2 separate regions of the Homo sapiens genome follow, and region 2 is linked to region 1. The links are contacts of gene promoters, found by promoter capture Hi-C in blood cells and fetal thymus (Javierre and others, 2016). All regions are on one chromosome and are shown on one strand. Each heading gives the region's core, a stretch centred on a gene start or on the middle of the fragment in contact. The rest is flanking DNA. Distances are from core to core; before and after follow the strand shown. Region 1 holds the start of FGF6 (fibroblast growth factor 6). Region 2 overlaps PARP11-AS1 (PARP11 antisense RNA 1).

The links. The method cuts DNA at HindIII sites, captures the fragments that hold promoters and counts their contacts. A CHiCAGO score of 5 or more calls a contact.
Region 2: a contact is called between a fragment that was not itself captured here and the fragment with the promoter of FGF6 in region 1, in 1 of 17 cell types (monocytes). The highest score is 6.2, in monocytes.

Annotation. Positions count from the first base shown.
Region 1 is chr12:4,444,413-4,447,686 of GRCh38, reverse strand. FGF6 (fibroblast growth factor 6) reads left to right here and starts at 1,872. Exons shown (of 3, transcript NM_020996.3): 1 at 1,872-2,462. The coding sequence starts at 2,117. The HindIII fragment of the contact is 8,014 bases long and covers 1-3,274 here.
Region 2 is chr12:3,890,444-3,893,379 of GRCh38, reverse strand. The region is part of intron 1 of PARP11-AS1 (PARP11 antisense RNA 1); the gene reads right to left. Among named protein-coding and RNA genes, the nearest start is that of PARP11, 19 kb to the right of the region's middle. The HindIII fragment of the contact is 985 bases long and covers 1,112-2,096 here.

The DNA of each region.
Region 1 (3,274 bases), core at 623-3,122:
TAGACTCAATCTGAGCCTATAAGGCATCATCTTTCCTCATGGGAAATGGCAGTGCTGGTGATGATGAGATTGGGTATGGGACAACGGCAGTGGAAGGGAGAGGAAGCCAATGGGGAAGTCAGGGGGCCGTGGTGACAGTAGGAACAAGTGGTGCCTATGTCCCTCCCCATTCAGTTTACCAGCTGAGGGTAAAGACAGACATCTGGGCTTCACAGGATTTCAGAAGGCATGTCTAGGGCAACACTAAACACATGGCTTGACAGAAATTTGAACCAAAGCATCGAACCCAGTGAACGAGGCAGAAGGGCAGAGAGAAGGCAGGTAGAAGCCACAGACCAGAGGCTGGGACCCAGGGCACAGCAGAAGGTTTAGAATCAGAGGGAAGGCGGTGGTGCCTCAGTAGAGTCCTTGGGCCATGGAACTCACCCCAGGAGCTTTTCCAGGCTGCCTGCAGCCTGCAATGTGGGTGTAGAGTGTGGCTAAGGGAGCTGCCTGCTGGGACCAGCTCTACTGCTCAGGACACTCAAATCCATCTGTATGCCACTGTCATCACCCCACACATACTCTCTCCAATCCCGGCAAAATCAGTGCTAATGTCTCACCAACAGATTAAGGCCTGGATTGAAGTACAAGAAACAGGATTTTTAACTCAAGTTAATTCAATTCCCCAGCGACCCTTGTTAACTTATTCACCCTCAGAGACGTATTAATAGTTCTGTCTTATATTGTATAGAAATTTGTGCAGTGAGTTTTCTGGTAGCTTTACATTTTTTTTCTCACTTCAGTTAGACATGTAATCTATTTAAAAGTAATATGGGAATAAGATAAATCAGTGTAGGAATAACTTCCTGGCAGAAATATTTTTACTAGTTTCTGAGTGTAATATCAGCCCAGCAAAAGTTATCTGCAAATATAGAAGTTCTCATGTACATCAAAGACACTCAAGTTTTTTTTAAGAAATAAATCATTTTATGCTACTGAAATAACTCTGTGATGTGCTATTGGCATTTAAGGAGCTAAACAGACTCTATGGGCCAGCCAACTTCTACTGCAAGCATTAGACATGCACAGGCTTTAGACTCAGGCACACCTTAGAAGTTCTGGCTTTGCTACTTATTAGCTATGGTAACTCGGGCAGGTCATTTATCCTCTCTAAGCCTCAACTTCCTCATCTGTGAAATGGGAATAATATCAGTCACATGCCAGGGATAAATCCAGGGAGAATGGCCAGGGGGCTGTGTCAAAGGCCAGACACAACTTCCACCCCAGGTGAATGTCGGGACCAGGACAGTGAGCAGGCAAACCTTGCCCTTGCCCTCCTTCCCTCCACAATCTTAAAGCTCCTTGAACAACCCCCATCCCCACCCCCTGAGAATGTCTGTGCCCTCCTGCTGAAAGGGTTTGGCCTTTCAGTGTTCCCCTCCACCATGAGCTGTTTCCATGAAAAGATCTCAAGGGTGACTTGAGGCTACGGTCATCACTACCACAAGCCTTTTCCCATCCCTGCCTCTACCTATTGCCCTCTAAATAAGGAAGCCAGCGCTGCCAGGCAAAGAACTTCTGCCCAATATGGGTCCTGGGTGGCCTCTCGCCTCTCTCTTTCCCTGGGCCCCCAGCCAGCTCCCCCCTCCCCCAGAGATGCTCCCTGCTCACTTCATTCCTGCCTCATAGTTGGAATGACAGTGGCTCCCAGAACCCCTGGGGAGTGTGGAGGGTGATGGGGGTCTGGGGAGGCAGCCAGGCCCAAGAGCAGGTTAATGTTACAGCCCTGGATAAGTGAGCTGGGCGGGTTGACGTCAGGGCGATGATGGGTGGAGGGGAGGGCCGGGCTGCTGAAGCAACTATAAAGATAGGTCAAATCAAATATCATCAACTAGGGACGGAGCAAGCGGGCGAGCTAGAGAGCGTCCCCGAGCCATGGTCTCTACCGGCCGCGGCTCAGCCTGGGTCCCTCTGCTCTCAACCCGAGTGCCCGATGGAGGCTTTGGTTTCATGTCAGCAGCCTTCATCTGCCTTCCAAAAATAAGCCCCTGCCGCCATGCCGGAGGGAGAAAAACAAGAAGGGCGGTATTTTTAGGGCCATTAATTCTGACCACGTGCCTGAGAGGCAAGGTGGATGGCCCTGGGACAGAAACTGTTCATCACTATGTCCCGGGGAGCAGGACGTCTGCAGGGCACGCTGTGGGCTCTCGTCTTCCTAGGCATCCTAGTGGGCATGGTGGTGCCCTCGCCTGCAGGCACCCGTGCCAACAACACGCTGCTGGACTCGAGGGGCTGGGGCACCCTGCTGTCCAGGTCTCGCGCCGGGCTAGCTGGAGAGATTGCCGGGGTGAACTGGGAAAGTGGCTATTTGGTGGGGATCAAGCGGCAGCGGAGGCTCTACTGCAACGTGGGCATCGGCTTTCACCTCCAGGTGCTCCCCGACGGCCGGATCAGCGGGACCCACGAGGAGAACCCCTACAGTGAGTGCCAGCTGCAGCCAGTCGGGACGCTTGGGGGTTTGGGCTCATGCAGGGCTAAAAGGTGAAGGGGCCCTGCTCTAGCGGACAGGATGCACGATAAAGGGGGCAGAAATGCTGCTCACCACTTAGATGATTCCACGTGACCCTGCCTGGGTGCAAGCTCAATATACTGCGGTCCAAGCATCCTGGTGTTCTTTGCCATCGCCTTGGTTAGATCCTCAGTGGCACTAACTATTTCAGCATTACTGGCCCATCTGATGCCTTGTAAGACCATTAGGAACCATTAGTCTGGGAAGCCCCCAAGGCCTGGGTAGGGAGAATCAGTTAGTATACTTGGATCAAATTTGACACAAGCTCATTTTTATTCAGCTTCTTTCTTGGAGAAGGAAGGGAAATTCAATTGCAAAATGTCCAACTGAAGCACATCCTTCTTTTTATTTCAGCGGCTCCCTCTGTCCCCAGGTTCTTATCCTGCAAGCTGCCTGCAAGCTGCCAGCTTGCTGTATGGTTAGTCTCCTATCCAAGAAAGGATGGGGGCTGCAGGATCCAAGAAAGCCATCAGCTATGGTGTGGCTGCTGTGTTTTCAAGATTAAGTGGGTTGAGATTTGTTGAAACATGTAGAGTACACATTAAGAAGAAGAAGAAGAATCAGAATTTATTTTTTTACTCAAGTCAAGGACCTCAAGTAATTATGTCACTGAAAGCCCAGATTCAAAGCTCATCTTAAACAGATAGCTAAGTGGTCACTGCAGCCCCTAACTCTGCTATCAGAACCTTCCCTTGCAGAACTGGATTTCTAACAGCACAATGG
Region 2 (2,936 bases), core at 355-2,854, 550 kb after region 1:
TGCAGTGGCTCACACCTATAATCCCAGCATTCTGGGAGGCGGAGGTGGGAGGATAGCTTGAGCTTAGGAATTCGAGACCATCCTGGGCAACATCTTGAGACTCCATCTCTACAAAATATTAAAAAAATTAGCCAGGTATGGTGGCACATGCCTGTGGTACCAGCTACTTGGGAGGCTGAGATGGGAGGATCGCCTGACCCTGGGAGATCCAAACTGTAGTGAGCTATGATTGAGCCACTGTACTCCAGCCTGGGGGCAGAGTAAGACCTTGTCTCAAAAATAAATAAATAAATAAATAAATAAATAAACAAACCATGAGACAGAGTACACCTGAGAGTCACAGTTAGGAGCAAAGACTGGGAGTTGCCATCAGGGCTGAAGGCTAAAATCATGAGACTGGATGAGCCTATTGAGAATGAGGAGAGCGCAGGCCAAGGAGTGAGACTTGCAGGACACCGACACTCAGGGACTTAGGGAGCAGTGAGAGAGAGAAAGAGAGAGAGAGAGAGAGAGAGAGAGAGGGAGAGAGAGAGAGAGAGTGAGAGAGAGTGAGAGTATGTGTCAGGGTGGAGCAGGAAGCAGCAAAGGCAGAAATAGGGCATTGCTTTGCTAGTTCATAGCCTACTTTCTTCCCTAAAGAAGGGAATACAACTGAGCATGCAAGAGAGGACCAGATGTAGACAATTTCCTGAAGGAAGGAGACATCAGCTGGGCCACCTGCTTCAGGGAGGCCTGGGAAGAGGGGAGGCTTGGAAATATCACCAGATTTGGGAAGAAGGTCACTGGCTATTGAGGGAGCAGGTACAGAAGAGGAGTTTGGGCAGATGCCCAATTGCAGGGGCTTAAGATGTGATTAAAGGAAATGGAGACAGGAGGAGGGTGTGAGGCCATACCCATTGAAATAGTGCTCCTATGGAATGAAAGAAAAACATACGGAGGCTCTAAGGACCAAGCACACAATCTTACGGGAGTTCTAGCATGACATCAGAAGGACTCATGGAGTGGACGAGATCACGGAGAGAAAGGGCCAAGAGACTCTGGAGGTGATGGTGCACCCACGTGGTTCTCAAGATTGTCTGTCTAGGTTTTCCTTGTAGCTCAGCTGGAAGCTTCACATGGCAGGTGGAAGGACATTTCCAGACCCTTCATTACTGCCATAGCTTTTGGAAAGATTGAATACAACAAGGGACAGGGAAGTGTGATGTATTGTGTCCTAAAAACCCCTCAGAAAAGACAATTTGAAGCAGAACATATAAATGATATCTTGTGTTACTTTCCTCATTCCCTTTCTTATTTACTTTTCCCACATGCCTCTAAGTCTGGATGCAATTGTGTGTCTCTAGGAGGTGTTCTAACAGGCTTCTAGTCACCATGAGAAATCTTAGAGTCTCCTCTTGGAGCTGATGACTTCGGGTCTAGACCCTGAAACATAATATTCTACTATTCACAGTAGAATGAAATGGCTTCAAGTCCCTGCATGTCCCATGTATTACATATTTAGTATGTAATACTTACAAGAAATGTGACCCTGGACAAGGGGCGAGGCTTCCCTGGGCCTGGGTTTTCTCAGGTAGAAGGAGAGCATGGTCGTACCTCTGCTGCCCAGCCTCTCGGGGAGCAGGCTTTCTTCCCGAGCGATGCAGCAGGAGAGCAAGGAGGAAAGGAGGTGACAAGGCAGAGCAGAAGAGGAGAAACTGGGTGGGGAAGCCAGAGTCCAGGCGATGGACTGGCCTGGGATTTGTAACTGGACGGAGGCTGAGGTGGGTTGAGGGTCTGGGGCTCAGGCATGGCAGGGATAAGGGTGGCTTCACAGGAAGGACTTCCCAGGGCAAGTGCTTTCCTTGACTCAAAGTGACGAGCTTTGACAGGGCTTTGGGAAAAGGGGGAGATGTGGCTTAGGTGATATGCTTTCTGGATGACTGTCGATCACGAGGGAGCTAAGGTGCAGGAGTTTACGTTCCCGGGCCTGATGATGGGGACAGCCCAGCACGTGGCCGGGCAGTTTCTTCACACACTTTTAGTTTTGCTTTCTTGTAAAGAGTTCCAGTGTTATCATTATGTTTAGCAGTTATAAACACTCCCGTTTATTACAAGCTTACTAAACACCAGCTTTACATATATTTGCGTGGGAAATTTGTACTTATCACCCCCAACCAAGCCTATGAAAGCACCGTACAAACACTGCTTTGTAAGCCTTGGACTGACTTGTCAGTTTGCAGCTTTGCTTATAATGGTACACGGTTTGGCCTTTCAACTCCTGACTTTTTCTTGGTGATTGAAGACTAGAGGTAGTGACCACAAAGGAAGCTAGAGCCTCTTCTCATGTGTGTGAGGAGGACTCTGGAATAGGAAGAAGGGTGTCTGTGAGTGCTGGACTGGGCATGCCGCCCAGGAAATAAGATCCTCACTTTGTCCTGCATTTCTCCTTTGGTATCAGCCCCTGGCCACAGTGGAGACACAAATCACTATTGTAGCACCTGTCATCCCACGGAGTGTGATCTGTTTATTTGATTGTCTCTCCCTTAAGATGGCATGTGACCTTTTTGTGAGCAAGGTCTCTCTCTCTCTCTCTCTCTCTGTCTCTCTCTCTCTCTCTCTCTCTCTATATATATATATATATATATATATATTTTTTTTTTTTTTTTTCTTGAAGCAGAATCTTGCTCTGTCCCCCAGGCTGGAGTGCAGTGGCACAATCTCAGCTCACTGCAAGCTCCGCCTCCCGGGTTCACGCCATTCTGCCTCAGCCTCCCAAGTAATTGGGACTACAGGCACCCACCACCACACCCAGCTAAATTTTTTTTTTTTGTATTTCTAGTAGAGATGGGGTTTCACCGTGTTTGCCAGGATGGTCTCGATCTCCTGACCTCGTGATCCACCCACCTCGGCCTCCCAAAGTGCTGGGATTATATGCGTAAGCCACCGTGCCTGGCCTA